Linked DNA regions of Homo sapiens: regions 2, 3 and 4 are each linked to region 1. The links are contacts of gene promoters, found by promoter capture Hi-C in human tissues and cell types (Jung and others, 2019). All regions are on one chromosome and are shown on one strand. Each heading gives the region's core, a stretch centred on a gene start or on the middle of the fragment in contact. The rest is flanking DNA. Distances are from core to core; before and after follow the strand shown. Region 1 holds the start of RPL10L (ribosomal protein L10 like). Region 2 overlaps MDGA2 (MAM domain containing glycosylphosphatidylinositol anchor 2). Region 3 has its middle 150 kb from the start of RPL10L. Region 4 has its middle 130 kb from the start of RPL10L.

Region 1 (4,686 bases), core at 974-3,473:
TCTAGCATTTTGGCAACATTAGACAGGTGGGAGATCAGACAAGTGGAAGTGAGTGTGTCGTGGCACATAAACTCTGGGCGTCTTCCTTTTGCCTCACAAACACCTCTCCCTGAGGCGCGATCATAGATTCAGAGCATGTAGTAGTATAAAAAAGATACTAACTTGTATATAAAGTCAAATATTTTAAAGTATGTTCAAGTTATAGTGTGTTTTCTGCAGTATTGCGAAGTCTTCCTTTCTGATCTCCTTGCATACCTTTTTTGGGCTGGTTTCAGTCTATTCACCATACCATAACCAGAGTGATGAAACCTAAGTAAAGCTCTTTAATGGCCTCACATTAAAGATCAGGATCCCTAACTTGGTAAAATGGGCCCTGTATGAAAGCATGACCCCTTCTCTCTCACACATACACACACTCTGGGCTCATGTTATGTGACTCATTTTCTCACTCACAGTCACATTGGCCTGACTTTAAGTTCCTTAAAATGTTCCATATTTCTGCCTGCTTCAGGCCTTTTATACATCAGACCCCATGTGCCATGGTCACTACATGAAATTTCTTTTCTGATAAAGATTTTCCTGTCTATTCCTCAGTCTGGATCAAGGTCTCATCCCCAGCCTCATCCCACAGTCTCAGGGCTTACTTTGCTTTTCCTTTTTGGCACATTTTACACTTGGTAATATGATGATATATGAGAAGTATCTATATCCTCTCCTAGGCTTGTAAGCTTGGTGAGAGCAACATGGTATTAGCTACTTTATCTCAATATGTTAAACAGGAACTAGTTGAGAAAAAGGGGAAAGAAGAAATGAAGGAAGAAAAGGGAAGTGAGAAAGCTTTCTTAAAGGTCAGAAAGTTTTCTACATTGGGAGATTTAATTGTTTTATCTTTAGTATTTTGTAAAAATCCACTCACTTTAAGGGCAGGAGTTATTTTTCTCCCTTAAAACAAAGAGTATTGACAGAATATATTCACATTGGGGGGATTTTGTTCCATGATGTAATGGATTTGTGAAACAACATTAAAACAAAAAAGAAAACTAGAAAAATGCAAGTAGGGTTTGTAAACTATTAATTTCTTTTCCTCTCTCTTCTTCCTCCTTTCCTACACTCTGATCCCTGTCATAATATTTTTACAAACTCTGAGAAGAAAAAAAGTTTAAATTTATTCTCAGGGGCAAAAGATTACTAAAACACAAACTGTTACTCTTTTATATAGTTTCAGCAGCTTTAACATTTGAAAATGCAAATAGCCTTAAGTTAAAAAAAATCTAGTTGGTGTTTCAATTTTGTATATATCATTTTGATAATAAAATCATTTCTTTAGGCCAAATAAAGAAAAAACAAAGTTTCATGTTTATAAAACAATTGCCAAGCTACAGATACAACAGATATCTTCTCTTTATCCCTCTCTCTTCTCTTCCTCTCATCTCTTCCTGAGTCTCATCAAAGCACTCATGCCAAGAAACCACTTTATCCAGGGAAGGTGGCCACATAACCCAAGAAACAGCAATTGATCTACAAATGCTGACAGTGAGATACAAGCTCTGGAAAATGAACTGACCAAACTGGAAACAGCATGTTGAATAACTGGAAGGATTTTTCCTCTCAAATTCTAGGATTTCTTTTTTTCTTTTTCTTTAGACAGGGTCTCCCTCTGTCACTCAAGCTGGAGTGCAGTGGTGCTATCTCAGCTCACTGCAGTTTCTGCCTGCAGGGCCCAGGCGATCCTCCCACCTCAGCCTCCTGAGTAGCTGGGACTACAAGCATGTGCCACCATGCCCAGCTATTTGATATATATATATTTTTTTTTTTGTAGAGACAGCATTTCACTATATTGCCCAGGCTGGCCTCGAACTCCTGAGCTCAAGAGATTCTCCTGCCTGGAAATAACCTCTTTTATACTTAAAGCAAAGCTGAAAGCAAGAGTTCCTAGCCCAAGATGGCTAGCAGAAAGGAAGCAGCAGCTGTGCAGTTGGGGCGGGGCCCAATTCCTTCCCTGGCCGCCAGGGGGAGTCTACCCACAGCTGACTCTGCTCACCTTAAGCGCGCCACTTGGCGCAGGCGCTGAGGCGCCAGACGTCCCTGCGTCTCTGGTTGGGACGTCCTGAAAGAGAGTCGTCACATCCTCCTCAGGACTCTATGGTTCCGGCCTCAGGACTCTATGGTTCCCGCGAGGGACGAGGGGCAACGTATATAAATGCGCGCAGGCGTAGTTAAGAGAGCGCATTTTGACTTCGAGGCACCGCCGACGTTACTGTGTCGCCATGGGGCGCCGTCCAGCTCGCTGTTACCGGTATTGTAAGAACAAGCCGTACCCAAAATCTCGTTTCTGCCGAGGGGTTCCTGATGCCAAGATCCGCATCTTTGACCTGGGTAGAAAGAAGGCAAAAGTGGATGAGTTCCCACTCGGTGGCCACATGGTGTCTGATGAATATGAGCAGCTGTCTTCTGAAGCCCTGGAGGCCGCCCGTATTTGTGCCAACAAATACATGGTGAAAAGTTGTGGCAGAGATGGCTTTCACATGCGAGTGCGGCTCCATCCCTTCCATGTCATCCGCATCAACAAGATGTTGTCCTGTGCTGGGGCTGACAGGCTCCAGACAGGTATGCGAGGTGCCTTTGGAAAACCCCAGGGTACTGTAGCCCGGGTCCACATTGGTCAAGTCATCATGTCCATCCGCACCAAGCTTCAGAACGAGGAGCATGTGATTGAAGCCTTGCGCAGGGCCAAGTTCAAGTTCCCTGGACGCCAGAAGATTCATATCTCCAAGAAGTGGGGCTTCACGAAGTTTAATGCTGACGAATTTGAAGACATGGTGGCCAAGAAGTGCCTCATCCCTGATGGTTGTGGAGTCAAGTACGTTCCCAGTCATGGCCCCTTGGACAAGTGGCGGGTTCTGCACTCATGAAGGTTTTGGCAGTACTGTCTCCTTGGGCCATGCTGGTCTGACTTATGCTTACTAATAAATTCTGTTTACTGGCAAAAAATAACTCCTTATTAAGTTTTAATATTTTTTAAATATCCAATGTTTTAGAATATAGACTACTAGAGAATTTTTTTCTATTTATTCAGTTTTAATGGCAAATGTTACCTTCCTTGCTTCAGTAAAACTATACAATTTATAGAGAAAGCTGTTTTAAGCAAACACTTTAAATTTAGGAGAGTATAGAGCAATATGTTGAAAGTTTTGTTTGTAGTAAAGTCATAAGTTATGCAGCTATCATTCCTTGAATAAAAAATAGATTTGAGTGAAAAAATTTGTTTATAGAATATAAACTAAACAGTAGCGATGAAAATAATAGTAGGCATTAGTGATATTTCACCCACAGCCTCTTTGGAAGTAATTTATTTCTAAACTTGGTTGCCTTATGTTTTTCTATAAATTTCTGTACATTGTTTTTAGAATTACCTTACACGTCTGATTATCAGCCTTAGGACAATTGAGTATCACTCTGAAAGGCTTTTCCAGACGAACTTTACATTGTCTCACAGTCAAGAGATAACAGTCTAATCTTTTTTTCATCATAGAAAGGTCATAGGTGACAACAGAGTTCATATTACTTGTATCTGGGCTCCAGTAGAACCAAAAGAAGAGAGAAAATGACACTAAATCGGTTATCTGTGCTATAAAAGGACCCTAAAGAGAGTTTGCAATTGTAGGTGCTTGCCCTGAATTAGAGTTACGTTGATGACACAGGTGCTTTTTGTTTTATTTTTGAAACTACATAAGCTAAAATTCCTGAGTTTGTACTGCATTAAAAAAAATTCTTGTTCTTTACAATTGACTTAGCCTTTTGAATCTCAATCCTGCTAACAGTGCCTTCAGTGTTTTTAGACTAACGGTTCTTTTTCAAAGTCAACACATTTAATGAAAACAACAAAAGAAATAGTAAGAAACACTACTATTTAATTTTCATTTATTTAAAGAAATGCTATGTCAGTCTTAACATATTGTATCTGGCTGGATATTTATTTTAGGCCCTTGCTATAAGATATTTCCTATTTGTATATATTTAAGCTATGTTGCTATTTTAAGACGTTTTTCATGTTTGCGTTTTACCACACTTTCAAAAACGAAAATTCAACCTCTAAATAATAATAATAATCAAAAGAGAAAGGCAATACAAAACACAATAAAATCAGCAACCCCTTAGCTTCTAGTACAACCATGGCCCAGCTTTGAAAATATTTTCCATCTTCATTATTTCCCTTTCTCTTTGGTCTTAAACCTCTCAAAACATCTTGACCTTCAAACTTGGAACTCTGCACTCAACTAAATATATAGGGAGAGAGGTTAAGTATAAGCTCATGAACTTCCTTGCCCTAAGAGATTGGTAACAGTAATTGTTTATGCATATAGATATGGGAGTGAAGAGGAAATGAATGATTAAGAATTAATGCATTAAAAACTGGTAGGTAGCTGTCAATAAATTTTTTATTTGAATTTTCCCACAGTTTCACGTTATAAAGATTATATATAAATTCTTTTTTTAAACGTTGACATACAAGCACTTTTACTTGTTTTTGTTAAAAATCCTTCCTACTAATTTTCCCCAAGTCATTATTTTGTTTTTTCAGCATTTTCTTATTTTAGGGTCATTCTAATTATTTAAAAAAAAAATAGTAAGACAATTGGGCTGAAGGATCATTTAATTATAATTTTGCAGAGTTCGTTATTTTAA
Region 2 (4,686 bases), core at 985-3,484, 190 kb before region 1:
TTATTATTTGTTTGATGAACTACATTTAAGTGAAGGACAGGGTCTCAATACAAAAGTTGACAACTGATGCCTCTGGTTACTACCTGGAGATTCCCACTGATAATATTATGAGAGCATATCAAAGAACATTGGATAAATTTCTCAAAAGTAGCCTAAGTTCTCTCAAAATCATCATAATTAAGCTATGGCTTTCCCAGGACAGCAGCTTTGAAAAGTTCAGAGATGACTCTGATTTGCCTTTGAGGAGATGTTTTCAAATAAAAACAAAAACAAAAACTTTGGCATTGATAAAAATAAACATTGTCAGATTTGTTGTGATGACATAAGTCTAGAAATGTTATTAATAAAGCACATTACCAGATTGATGTTAGAAACAGCTCTTTATTAAACTATTCTTTGGAATGACCAAAGCAGATATTTCCTTTTAACATGTAAATATTTTTCTAGAACTGTATACCCACCACTAAATGCATGAATTGCCTTACAGTATCAAAAAGATTAAAGTTTTGCTGAAAGCAAGGAATAATTTGGGAGCCATAAAGAAAATTCTAAAAGAGTCCTGTTTCTGTAAAAATAAAAAATATATAAATTTGCTAATTGTGCTTCTATTGTCATTGTTTTAAGTATTTAATAATAAAGGATTCTGATTGTACTCATTTATTCTTTCAATATTCATGCACTGAGCCTCAGTGACCACCATTGTTATAGACACCATAAATTCAAAGGTATACCGTGAGATATTCAACATAAATAGACTGATACATATCTTCAAGTTTAAAAAAATGGAATATCAGCAGTGAAATCATGGAGGTAAATTATAAAGTCAACATGGGAATATGACGAACCTATTCAATCTATTTGTGAGAAATCAATGTCAGAGATAGAAACACTTTGTTCCGGGCTTCAATATACATATTACTGTTGTAAAGAATTCAGAATTGATTCATTCTTTAAAATATTTCTAGAAAACTAATGTTATGAGTTATGTTCAGATAAAACCAGAAAGAATCTATCTCAGAGAAAGACTTTTCAAATAAAACATTTTTTCTTATCCTTAAAAATTAAAAGAGGATGTGTAGTCATTTTTTTTAATTGTATTATTTAATTAAGTTTAGTTTTGCTTTAAAATCGACACAGAGCTTTTGATGTGAAAAACTAATACAATGCAAGGAAGATTCAATTACTGGTTTTGGGATGAAAGTTTATGTTTTCTGCAAGTTTTAATTTTGAAAGCCATCAAATATAAAAGATGCCAGGATTACTGACAAGTTTATTTTTGTCACCTTGATTTCTCAAGAGAAACTGATCTGCAAATCAAAGCTCCACATTTAGGTTTGTTTCATTCATATTTGTAGCTCATTTTTGAAGGTATCCGAGGTCCTGGAATAGAAGGTGACATTGCTATTGATGATGTATCAATTGCAGAAGGAGAATGTGCAAAACAAGACCTAGCAACTAAGAGTAAGTATCTTTGCTTGAGATTGGTTTGTTGTAACGTTAAAGTAACATTACTATTAAATTAACATTTAATTTAATTAATTTTAAAAACGGAGTTATTTTTAGTTGGTTTATTTAGAAATTTCTTATATGTAATACCCTAAAGTTTGTTCAGTTATTTTTAAAGTATTAAATTCAATTGTAGACATATTTGGCCTAAGATAAAATAGAAGTGAGATTTTGATTTAGATCTACGTAAGGCAAGTACACTTTGATTTTTAATTAAGATTTTAAAACACTTTGATATTATTTGTTTTAGAAGATTTAAAAACTTGTATTAAAATATTTGATGAACCTATATACATAGCACATATTTACAATGTAAATTGTATTAGTCAATCTTCATACTGCTATAAAGAACTGCCCAACACTGGGTAATTTATAAAAGAAAGAGATTTAATTGACTCACAGTTCAGCAAGGCTGGGAGGCCTAAGGAAACTCACAATCATGGCGGAAGGTGAAGGGGAAGCAGAGTACCTTCTTCACAAGGCAGCAAGGAGAATTGCTGAGAGAAGGGGGAAGTGCCCCTTATAAAATCATCAGATCGGCCGGGCGCGGTGGCTCACGCCTGTAATCCCAGCACTTTGGGAGGCCGAGGCGGGTGGATCACAAGGTCAGGAGATCAAGACCATCCTGGCTAAGACGGTGAAACCCCGTCTCTATTTAAAAATACAAAGAAAAAATATTAGCCGGGCGTGTAGTCCCTGTAGTCCCAGCTACTCGGGAGGCCGAGGCAGGAGATTGGCGTGAACGCGGGAGGCGGAGCTTGCAGTGAGCCAAGATCACGCCACTGCACTCCAGCCTGGGCGACAGAGCAAGAGTCTGTCTCAAAAACATAATAATAATAATAATAATAAAAATCATCAGATCTAGTGAAAACTCACTTTCATGAGAAGAGCATAGGGGAAGAGCCCCCATGATTCAGTTACCTCCACCTGGTCTCTCACTTGAAACATGGGGATTATGCGGATTATATTTCAAGATGAGATTTGGTCTCTCCCTTGAAACATGGGGATTATGCAGATTATATTTCAAGATGAGACTTGTGTGAGGACACAAAGCCTTACCATGTCAGCATAGATGCTTTCATTCGTCCAGTTTGTGAATATAGTGAATATATTTCCTGATTTAGCCAATTTTTTTTTTTGAGACGGAGTTTTGCTCTTGTTGCCCAGGCTGGAGTGCAACAGTGCAATCTCTGCTCACTGCAATCTCCGCCTCCCGGGTTCAAGTGATTCTCTTGCCTCAGCCTCCTGAGTAGCTGGGATTACAGACTCGCGGCACCACACCCCGCTAATTTTTTGTATTTTTAGTAGAGACGCGGTTTCACCATGTTGGCCAGGCTGGTCTCGAACTCCCGACCTCAGGTGGTCCACCTGCCTCGGCCTCCCAAACTGCTGGGATTACAGGCGTGAGCCACTGTGCCTGGCCTTTTGCCAGCCATTTTAACAGATTCAGCATTGTAAAGAGCCTAAATACATATATTAAGTAATGAAGTAGACCTCATATTTATGGTCTAATCTCCTATCTGCACCACAAGCTTGTTTAATAATTTGATTTTCACTTTATACCCTTTTTTGAGTATTATGGTTTAATGATATATTTAATTTTATTTTTTTGTCACAGGTCCATTTTATAATAGAAGAGATATAAATAAAACATGATGAATAATGCACAAAGATTTAGAATTATGTATTTAGCTGCTTCTTAAAGTCCTCATCTCCATATTTCACATTCGAAGCTATGAAATCTAAAATCATTCCTGTTAAAAATGACTGCAATTGAAGGATTATCTTAGACTCATCTGGAATCTTTTATTTTGTGGTCATATATAGAGAAAGTAATCAAACTAAATTTACACAAATTACTCATCAATTATTTAGCACATACAAAAGCATGAAAATCTATGTTGTATAAATCTAGAGCAAATCAGAGTCTTTGGTAATTTTCTATATTTAGTGAGAAACTGTACCAGTCTAGATGTTGAAAGTTGAATGTGTACAATTGTCCACTGATTACTCATATGAACTGAATTGACTCAATTCTTAAGTATTGTCAAAAGACAAAAACTAAGATTTTTATATAACAATGAGCCATTTTGCTCATTGTTATATAAAATGAAAATATATTAAAAAGTCATAAACTTAGTATTTCAAGTAACATATTTAGTAAAAATGTATCCTTGTGTCTGTCTAGTTCTGCTTTAGAAAACCAGTAGCTATACTCAAAAGAACAGTTTTTCTAATGCACAGGAAAACATGTATTCTCCTCAAAGGAGAATAGGATTTCTTTTGAATTTCATAGTATGACTGAGTGGCAGTAACATTTTATTAATTGAAGGCAGTTACAACTATATACAGAAATTTTACATTTTCATAATGTAAGCACAAATATTATAAATAAATTCAATAAATTGAATTAAACTTTTCAAAGGAAGAAAGCAAAGGAAATTATTTACTCCCTAGTGCAGAAAGAAAGCATAACTGATAAAACTAGCCACAGTAAATGCCTGTGAAAGCCCATAGGGACTTCATTACTGTACAAGTTCTATTACAATAGAACATTTTTATAATTAGTTTTTTTTTTCTCTTAAACTAGCAAATCCAAGAAATGTGTGGCAGTTTTAAATATGAAAACACCCCCTGTATGTATTGGGTGTATTTATATTTAAACTCTATAAATTAGGGGAAATAAATAATCTTAATTGAACACAAATAATCTATTTGGCATCAGAAAGTTTTCTGTTACATTTGTGTCATTTAATTACCATTTATTAAGTTCATTTTATGACTAGCATTTGATTGATTGATGATTATTAAATGAATATTATATTCTAAGTACAGACCAGCCTGAAGGCTGAAAGCCTCTTCCTGATTCCTCAGGCTGCCAGTTCTTTCCAGGCAATAAATGGAACTATGGTCCACACCATGCAGATATAAGATTGTATGTCTCAATTTTCAAACTCAATTCTCCCCTAGATACAAGCCACTTTGCAACTTTAGCTAGTTTAATGAATTATATCTGTGTTATCCCTCCACAGTAAGGCATGCATTCTAAGAGGCATCAACTGGACACCAGGTTTTAACAGAAATCCCAATTACAGTAGGACTTTCCAGGCCGATTGGTGGAAGGGATTTTTTAGTTTGAATGGACTTCATCATGCCTCTAAAAGTTAAAATAAAGAGAAA
Region 3 (4,686 bases), core at 1,235-3,734, 150 kb before region 1:
TTCATTCTAACTTGTCTCTGAATGCTTTCTTGGGGCAGTTTCAAGAACCTGGAACACCACGCTGGGGTTAGTGATCTCACCAGTACCTGGAGACGCACCTAAGCCCTCTGGCAACATATACATGAAACAAAATCCCTAAGTTAGTAACAAGGAAGGAGATAATGGATGCTGAATAACATACCAAACTACATGTCAGTGCATTTGATAATCACAACACTCTGAGCTGGTGTTTAAGTAAACTAGTAATAGTAATTTTAAAAACCTACTCACTTAGTTAAAATGCTTTATTTTTAGCATTTTCCTTACTTAGTATTCCTAAAATATAACATTGAATTCCCTGAATTCCCTAGCAACAGAGAATCATATCTTTAGTATTAAATAAGTAATGAAAATTGGAATTTATAAAGCTTACGGGTTATTTCTTTTAAACAACTTTGTATGACATAAGTGACACATTGCTGATTAAAGGAGTTTTTGATTTTGGCAAAGGTGTTGCCCTGTTAAAGCTTAAATATAAGTCTAACATTAGAAGAGAGACATGAAGTTCAAAAATAAATTATTCAAGAATGATAAAAATATATTATAAGAAAATATAACTACAGGGTATATAATGGACTTAGACACAAAGATTACAAACAACATGTCAGGAAGTCCAATCTAGCAATGTATAAAGGTGTAATACATCCTGACAAGTGGGTTTATATAGGAAATGTAGAGTTGATTCAACATGTGAAAAACAATATAATTAAACATACAAAAAAGGAAAAAATAATAATTTCATTAAATGCAGAAAATGTCAATATCAACGTATTATAAATTCCTTCACCTGATAAAGGCTATCTATTAAAAACAAAGCTTATAGCTCACATTATAGATAACAGTGAAACCCTTTCTCCCAAAAATAGTAAACAAGGAAAGAATATTCAATCGCTCCACTCCTATTCAACATTATCCTGGAGGCTCTGGACTGTACAATAAAATACGAAAAAGGAGTAAAAGGCATACATTTGGAAAGGAAGATATAAACTGTTTCTATGCACAGGCAAAATAATTGTCTGCATAGAGAAATCCAAAGATACAAAAATTAGTTACTACAAATATTGTGAGCTTAATGAAGTCAATATATTTAAGATATATATATGACAATCAATTATATTTCTACATAATAGCAATGAACAACTGGAAATTAAAATTGAAAAAGCAATAATATTTATAATAGTACGGAAAAACATGAAATAAGTATACATAGCACCAAAAATGTAAACATCTCTATGCTGAAAACTACAAAATATTCATGAAAGAAATCCAAAAGATTGAAATTAATGGAGAGATTTGTAAGTTCAAAGATAGGAAGACTCACCATTCTCGAGAAGTTGTTAAGAAACTAAATTTTTGTACAAATTTAATGCATTACAATCAAAATTTTAGGGGGACTTCTTTTGTAAAAATTTACAAGCTGATTCTAAAATTTACATGAAAAATAAAAAACTATAATAGTCAAGACAATTTTGAAAAAGAAAAAAATGAGAGCACACACTACTTCAAAACAGTGTTAATCAAGACAGTGTAGTATTGGTAAAAGTATGGATACATAAATATGTGTGACAGAATAGAGTAACCTACTATAAACCCACACATATAAAGTCAACTGAGTTTTGACAAATATGCCAAGATAATTTAATAAAGAAAAGACAAATCTTTGCAATATACAGTGCTAGCTTCTGGTGATAAACTATTTATAATCCTATCATATGCAAAATACATTCATTTCTTTCCAAGTTTCCAAAGTCTTATCCCATTATATAACTAGCAAAAAGTTCCTTATCTTGCCATTTATATCAGTTCCATATGGAGAAGCTGCTGCCTCACTTTAGTTTCTTAGATACAGTTACTGAAGTATGACCTAAGGTATAAACAGACGTGATGCCCACCCACTCTCCACACACAGTAGTGGGACAGATATACAATAACTATTATAGACATTCCTGTTCACAAAGGGAAAAATGGAAATAACAAAATCATTAATTCATGCTCATTTTGAAAGTCATCCAAACAAGTGTTAGAAGGTCCTTGATTATAACTCATGATAGTCTTTCTAAGAAATAATGCTTCCTGACAATTGTCTTTGCCTTCTGGGGCTTTTTATTATGCTTTTTGGGCTCTTGGTTTCTCCCTCTCAATCATCCTTCTTTTCTGTAAAAGTAACCCATGTTTGCTGGTGCATAATTTACTTAGGCTGCTTCCTGCTGGTCAAATTTTGGGAATCCAAAAACTTTTCGCTTTTTACCACCTTCATGTCTTAATTGTAAATTCACAGTGTTTAGTGAATGTAATTGTTTTCAAATTTCGTAGGTCCCAGATGAATAATACTGGGGTTCACTTCATTCTCAAAACTTATACTCACAAATTTCTTCAAGATAAGTCTTCTCTACATAGGACTTCTACTGTGACAGCAAGGACAGTGCCTTTAAGCTTCTTAGAAAACCTATCATTTGTTTGAAAGGATCCATGAGATGATTAATTAAATTCTTGAATGGATCTTTTGTTTGAGGCAAGACCATTGATATGTCTGAGATCCTAACAACACATTTTACATTCATGCCTTTGGTTTCATATTTAGACAATGATTTTCTTACAGTGAACTGTATTTGACCATTTCTTGGAAGCCATTGCTTGATTTTTAACATGTTTTGCTTTTTGGGAAGTCTGATAATTTTCAATGCTATTAAACCTCTAATTATTATTGTTTTAGAGCATTTCCATTGTTTATCTCTTTCCTCTCACATTTTACTGTAAGCAGTAAGAAGCCACCAGAAAGCACGTTCAACACTGAGAGTGGGAATGTCCTTAGCTAGGTAATCCAGTTCATTAGGAGTGTTTTTTATGTTAAATATTATTAGAGAGGACAGTATTTCTAACTCCCACCATGTAACAAGTATCCAGTCTCCTCCAATTTAAAATTTTTCCCACTTTCCTTTAAGTCCTCACTTATAGCCTCCCAAAAGTCCATGGTGCTTCTACAGACACTTTATTCTAGGCTTTTTCAGCTTTTATAAACCCTCTCAAATGTTCCCAGCTTCTTCCCAATGTTCAGTTTAATAGTCATTGTCACAGTATAGAGTTATTTTGTGGCAGTTCCTCACTTTTAGGCATAAAAATGTGTATTAGTAATCTATTGCTGTATAACATGTTATTCATGTTATACTATATCAATATCAATTATAAATTCCTAAATATATTATAAATTCCCAATATATTATAAATTCCTAAATAAAAACTAGCAGCTTTAATAACTGAATATTATATCATTGTTTCTGTGAGTAGGAATTCAGAAGAAGCTTACTGGATAGTTCTGAATCAGAGTCTCTCATGCGGTTATAGTCATTTGTTGGACAGGGCTGCTGTCATCTAATGGCTTATCTGGACTAAAGAATGTGTTTAAAGGTAACTCACTCACATGACTGTTGGCAGGATGCCTCAGTTCCTCAATTCTTGTTGGCAAAAGGCGTTAGTTTTTTAACAGGTAGGACTATTTTTACAACATGGCAGCTAATTTCTTCTCAAATGTGAATGACTGAGAAGAAAGCTATGGTACCTCTTATGACCTACTCTCCAAAGTCACACTCCATCATTGTCACTTTATTCTTTAGAACCAAGTCATAAGTCCATTTCACATTCAAGAGCATCAATACAAGGCTCCATATATTAAAAAAGGAATATCAATGAATTTGTGGTTATATTTGAAAACCACCACACAGCCCTCTTGTGGAGACTTCAGTTGCTTTAATTATACACATATTAGTCTGCTTGAAGTTGCCCACAGCTCAATGATAGTCTATTCGTTTTTTCTATGCATTTCCTTTTGGATACTTTCTATTGCTATGTCTTTAAATTTGTTACTTTTTTTCTGCAAAACATAACCTTCTATTAGTTCCATCAAGTGTATTGTTTAATCTTAAATATAGTTTCATCTCTAGAAGTTGATTTGTGTCTTTTTGATTCTTCTATGTCTCCATTTATGATATGGTTTGGCTGTGTCCCCACCCAAATCTTATCTTGAATTCCCACATGTTGTGAGAGGGATCTGGAGGGAGGCAGTTGAATTATGGGTGCAGGTCTTTCCCATGCTGTTCTCATGATAGCTAATAAGTCTCATGAGATCTGATGGTATCATAAGGGGAAATTTCCCTGCCCAATCTCTCTCTTTGCCTGCTACCATCCATTTAAGAGGTGACTTGCTCCTCCTTGCCTCCTGTCATGATTGTGAGGCTTCCCCTGCCATGTGGAACTGTAAGTCCAATTAAACTTCTTTCTTTTGTAAATTGCCCAGTCTCGAGTATGTCTTTATCAGCAGCATGAAAACGGGCTAATACAACTTAACATCTTCAATCTTTCTCTAGGTTCTTGAACATATGGAATATAGTTACAGTCACTGTTCTAATGTCTTTTTCTATTCCTTTGATCATAATTCTATTAATTTGTCATTTGTGGGTCAGTTATATCTGATAGATTGTTCTCTTTATTATTAGATAACAGCTTATAATACCTCTCCATCATGGGTAGTAATTGATTCCTATAAATTGCTTTCTGAGATGTTTTTATAAGTGATTTCATTTTGGAGCGTATTGATTGCTGAGGAAATGAATTACAGCTGTCAGCACTAGTTATTTAGCTGACTTCTTCACA
Region 4 (4,686 bases), core at 1,216-3,715, 130 kb before region 1:
GGTGGCTCATGCCTGTAATCCCAGCACTTTGGGAGGCCGAGGTGGGCAGATCACGAAGTCAGGAGTTCAAGATCTGACCAACATGGTGAAACCCCATCTCTACAAAAAATATAAAAATTAGCCAGGCATGGTGGTGTGTGCGTGTAGTCCCAGCTATTTGGGAGGCTGAAGCAGGAGAATTGCTTGAACCTGGGAGGAGGTTGCAGTGAGCCAAGACCGCCATTGCACTCCAGCCTGGTGACAGAGTGAGACTCCATCTCAAAAAAAAATAAATAAATAAAAGATGGAATTAAGTAAAAATGCCATATATATTATAAAAATAGTTCCTCACTAAATATCATCGGCTATAAACTGTTTTAGGATTGACTGCAAAATACCACTAGGAACATGTCCTGTTATTAATGATTTTATTTCTAAGAAAGAGCTTGTGTTTAAAACTTTGGATGTTGAGTACTTGTTTTTTGTCCTCATAATACTTTTGTTGAATAAATTCCAAAAGGACTTGATTGTCAGGCCTATATTAGGTTCTTACCCTTAATGTCACATATTTGTACTTATTAATAATTGTTTCAATGAAAAGTGCATTAGCAGTATGAACTTCTGGTCCAGTTGGAAGTTCTTCCATTTGAAAAAATGTGATATTTACATGGGACTGTTTGAATCTTTTCTATTTTCTAGTCCTCCTCCCCTACACTGGGTAGAATTTAAGCTAGAATTTTTCTCTTTTGATAAAAGAATGAAAAATGAACATGTTATTTGTAAATTGATGTTTAGTAACTTGTGATAAGCTTGAAATACGAGAATACATTATAAGCCTTAATCGTAGGTAGTCTTATGAGAACGAATCTCTTAACTATCTTTTGAACCTATATTCACATTGGTTTTCAAGATATTTTAAGTTGATGGGGTTGTTTGTTTTTTTCTTGTAAATTTGTTTGAGTTCATTGTAGATTCTGGATATTAGCCCTTTGTCAGATGAGTAGATTGCAAAAAATTTCTCCCATTCTGTAGGTTGCCTGTTCACTCTGATGGTAGTTTCTTTTTGCTGTGCAGAAGCTCTTTGGTTTAATTAGATCCCATTTGTCAATTTTGGCTTTTGTTGCCATTGCTTTTGGTGTTTTAGACATGAAGTCCTTGCCCATGCCTATGTCCTGAATGGTATTGCCTAGGTTTTCTTCTAGGGTTTTTATGGTTTTAGGTCTAACATTTAAGTCTTTAATCCATCTTGAATTAATTTTTGTATAAGGTGTAAGGAAGGGATCCAGTTCAGCTTTCTACATATGACAAGCCAGTTTTCCCAGCACCATTTATTAAATAGGGAATCCTTTCCCCATTTCTTGTTTTGTTTTGTCAGGTTTGTCAAAGATCAGATAGTTGTAGATATGTGGCATTATTTCTGAGGGCTCTGTACTGTGCCATTGGTCTATATCTCTGTTTTGGTGCCAGTACCATGCTGTTTTGGTTACTGTAGCCTTGTAGTATAGTTTGAAGTCAGGTAGCGTGGTGCCTCCACCTTTGTTCTTTTGGCTTAGGATTGACTTGGCAATGTGGGCTCTTTTTTGATTCCATATGAACTTTAAAGTAGTTTTTTCCAATCTGTGAAGAAAGTGGTAGCTTGATGGGGATGGCATTGAATCTATAAATTGCCTTGGGCAGTATGGCCATTTTCACAATATTGATTCTTCCAAGTGGGCAAAGGATATGAACAGACACTTCTCAAAAGAAGACATTTATGCAGCCAACAGACACATGAAAAAATGCTTATCATCACTGGTCATCAGAGAAATGCAAATCAAAACCACGATGAGGTACCATCTCACACCAGTTAGAATGGCGATCATTAAAAAGTCAGGAAACAACAGGTGCTAGAGAGGATGTGGAGAAATAGGAACACTTTTACACTGTTGGTGGGACTGTAAACTAGTTCACCCATTGTGGAAGTCAGTGTGGCAATTCCTCAGGGATCTAGAACTAGCAATACCATTTGACCCAGCCATCCCATTACTGGTATATACCCAAAGGATTATAAAACATGCTGCTATAAAGACACATGCACACATATGTTTATTGCGGCACTATTCACAATAGCAAAGACTTGGAACCCACCCAAATGTCCAACAATGATAGACTGGATTAAGAAAATGTGGCACATATACACCATGGAATACTATGCAGCCATAAAAAAGGATGAGTTCAAGTCCTTTGTAGGGACATGGATGAAGCTGGAAACCATCATTCTCGCAAACTATCACAAGGACAAAAAACCACCACATGTTCCCACTCATAGGTGGGAATTGAACAATGAGAACACATGGACACAAGAAGGGGAACATCACACACTAGGGCCTGTTGTGGGGTGGGTGGAGCGGGGAGGGATAGCATTAGGAGATATACCTAATGTTAAATGATGAGTTAATGGGTGCAGGACACCAACATGGCACATGTATACATATGTAACAAACCTGCATGTTGTGAACATGTGCCCTAAAACTTAAAGTATAATAAAAAAAATAGAAAAGAGAAGATATTTTAAGTTATATTTTTTCCTCTGTTCTTCAGAGCTACTTCTTATTTTGGGGCTACTTTTTTTAATTGTGTAATTCACAAGGGACTGCATTTTTAAAAATAAGGCTTTAACCATGGCTGGATGTTTTGCTCTAGTCTTCTAAGAAGGGCCATTTTATTTTTTATAGTCACTTCTAAAGTCATGTGGTCATTAACTTTGGAGACTGTTTTGCATATGAGTGCTAATACAAGTTAAAACCCAAGTAGACCTCATTACATGTCACCCTATGAATGCTGACAATGGAAGGAATACTTTGCCTGTAGTATACTGTCATTTCTGGACTGAAAAGCTGAGGAAGAAACTTAATTTTCTTTTATGCATGAGTCAGAAAATCTACAGTTAATGTTCCCAGTTTCCTGACTGACCTCAGCAGCTGAAGTGAACAGATAGTGTTAACTCAGATTGAAGAAATTATCTGAATCTTGGTTTGTGTAGATTTACAATCTACATGCAATATTAACTAAATCAGATAGCTTTTAGAGTTTCACATGTGTATATAGGTTCCCTCCCAGTCCCTTCCATACCCATTAGTTATTGAACTTTCTAAACTGGCATTAAAACATTACAACAATTTTTTGTTGTACCAATTTTACAAATTTATGCAGAATATTACTTGTTATTTTTCTGAGGCAAACCAGTGGTAAATTTCTCAAGGTTCTTGCTGCCTTCTTTAGCAGCATTTGATGGAGGATCTCTTATACATTTGTAATAGACAAAAATAAACCAGATTGCAAATCCTTTTTAAGAATCTTAAACCATGTACCAAGTTTTTGGTCCAAATTTTGTAGGATAAGTTAAACTTAAATTTTACTCTATTAACCAATATGAGTGTATTTCTGAAAGCATAGTTACGTTGAAATAAAGTTTTAAAAAGCGAAAATATGAAAGAAGAATCAGTATGAAAAATATCTATACTTTATGTATATTTTATATATGCATGGCCACTCTAGGAATGTTTTAATAAGGCAGAATTTTGTTTAATCATGATATGTGTTATGATAAAATATTTGCTCTCAACCAATTCTAAAACATAAAAGGAAATTTCTCACTTTCTATATTAAAAGTCAAAATATAAAATAACAAAAGAAAGAGTTAAAATTAAGCAAAAAATATGATACATGACCAAACCGTGTAACAATTATATATACCCAACTTTAGTAATATATTTGTTTACATTTATTGTGCACTCTCTATGTGTGAGAAATTATATGGAAATTATATGTTCATTTACTTCTCACTGTTTCTTTGCTTTGCATGTGGTAGTAACTGTCTATAAACTTGAGGGTACACAAACACTTCATTTATAGCTTTTTAATTTAAACTAATTTTAGACTTATGAAGAATTGCAAAAGTAGCACAGAGATTTCTCTTATATCTCTGACACTACTTCCCCTAATGTTAACATCATTCAAAATCATAGTACAATTGTTAAGAAGTGTCTGAAAGTAAAAAAAAAAAAAAAAAATAGTCCCAGACGAATAGACCAAAATATTTTTTCCCAGTTTTATCCTTAGAAGAAATTAGCATTCCCAACAAAGTCTTTAAATATTTTCTGATAACTTTTCTTGTAATTAAGATATGCTCTGTCAAAGAGTTACCCACTCAGCTTATTAAGTCTCAATTATCAGGTCTTTAACCATTATTTCTTGTGTGTTTAATCTAATCATGATTAAACACATGATTAAGCTTCTCTTGCCTTGTGGAATGCCCTATTAATAATATATCATTATTTATTAATTGATGTTATATTATTATAATCTATTAATTGTAAATATTTTAATTGTTTTTCTATGGCTCTTATCCATTGAATGTAAGATTGTGAAAAACTTGGACACATACCAATAACTAAATTTCTGAATGATTTTTCTTTATTAGAAGAAGGGAAATAATTTTCCAGTTCTTCTTTTCTATCAGTACCATTTCCTGGATTTATATGCCTTAGGAATCAAGGCAAGGCAAAAGAAAGAATAGTGTATATGTTTCCTCTAGGTGCAAAATCTCTGAGATGGCCAAGTTACTGAGTGACGAACATTTTGCAAATCTAGTAGTTTCTTAATCTTTGCTTTTAGCAGTATTGGAGAATCAGTTTTGTTGGATAGTCAACCACTAATGATAATTTA

The links. The method cuts DNA at HindIII sites, captures the fragments that hold promoters and counts their contacts. A contact is called where the count stands out against the background at its distance.
Region 2: a contact is called between a fragment that was not itself captured here and the fragment with the promoter of RPL10L in region 1, in 2 of the 25 tissues and cell types used here (dorsolateral prefrontal cortex and mesendoderm cells).
Region 3: a fragment that was not itself captured here is called in contact with the fragment with the promoter of RPL10L in region 1 in 2 of the 25 tissues and cell types used here (dorsolateral prefrontal cortex and pancreas).
Region 4: a fragment that was not itself captured here is called in contact with the fragment with the promoter of RPL10L in region 1 in 2 of the 25 tissues and cell types used here (stomach and thymus).

Annotation. Positions count from the first base shown.
Region 1 is chr14:46,649,318-46,654,003 of GRCh38, reverse strand. RPL10L (ribosomal protein L10 like) reads left to right here and starts at 2,223. Exons shown (of 1, transcript NM_080746.3): 1 at 2,223-2,994. The coding sequence starts at 2,268. The coding sequence ends at 2,912. The region is part of intron 3 of LOC105370481 (a long non-coding RNA gene); the gene reads left to right. The HindIII fragment of the contact is 6,030 bases long and covers 330-4,686 here.
Region 2 is chr14:46,842,541-46,847,226 of GRCh38, reverse strand. MDGA2 (MAM domain containing glycosylphosphatidylinositol anchor 2) reads left to right here. Exons shown (of 17, transcript NM_001113498.3): 16 at 1,356-1,461. Among named protein-coding and RNA genes, the nearest start is that of RPL10L, 190 kb to the right of the region's middle. The HindIII fragment of the contact is 8,716 bases long and covers 1-4,686 here.
Region 3 is chr14:46,801,621-46,806,306 of GRCh38, reverse strand. No RefSeq gene overlaps it. Among named protein-coding and RNA genes, the nearest start is that of RPL10L, 150 kb to the right of the region's middle. The HindIII fragment of the contact is 3,605 bases long and covers 682-4,286 here.
Region 4 is chr14:46,784,214-46,788,899 of GRCh38, reverse strand. No RefSeq gene overlaps it. Among named protein-coding and RNA genes, the nearest start is that of RPL10L, 130 kb to the right of the region's middle. The HindIII fragment of the contact is 5,792 bases long and covers 1-4,686 here.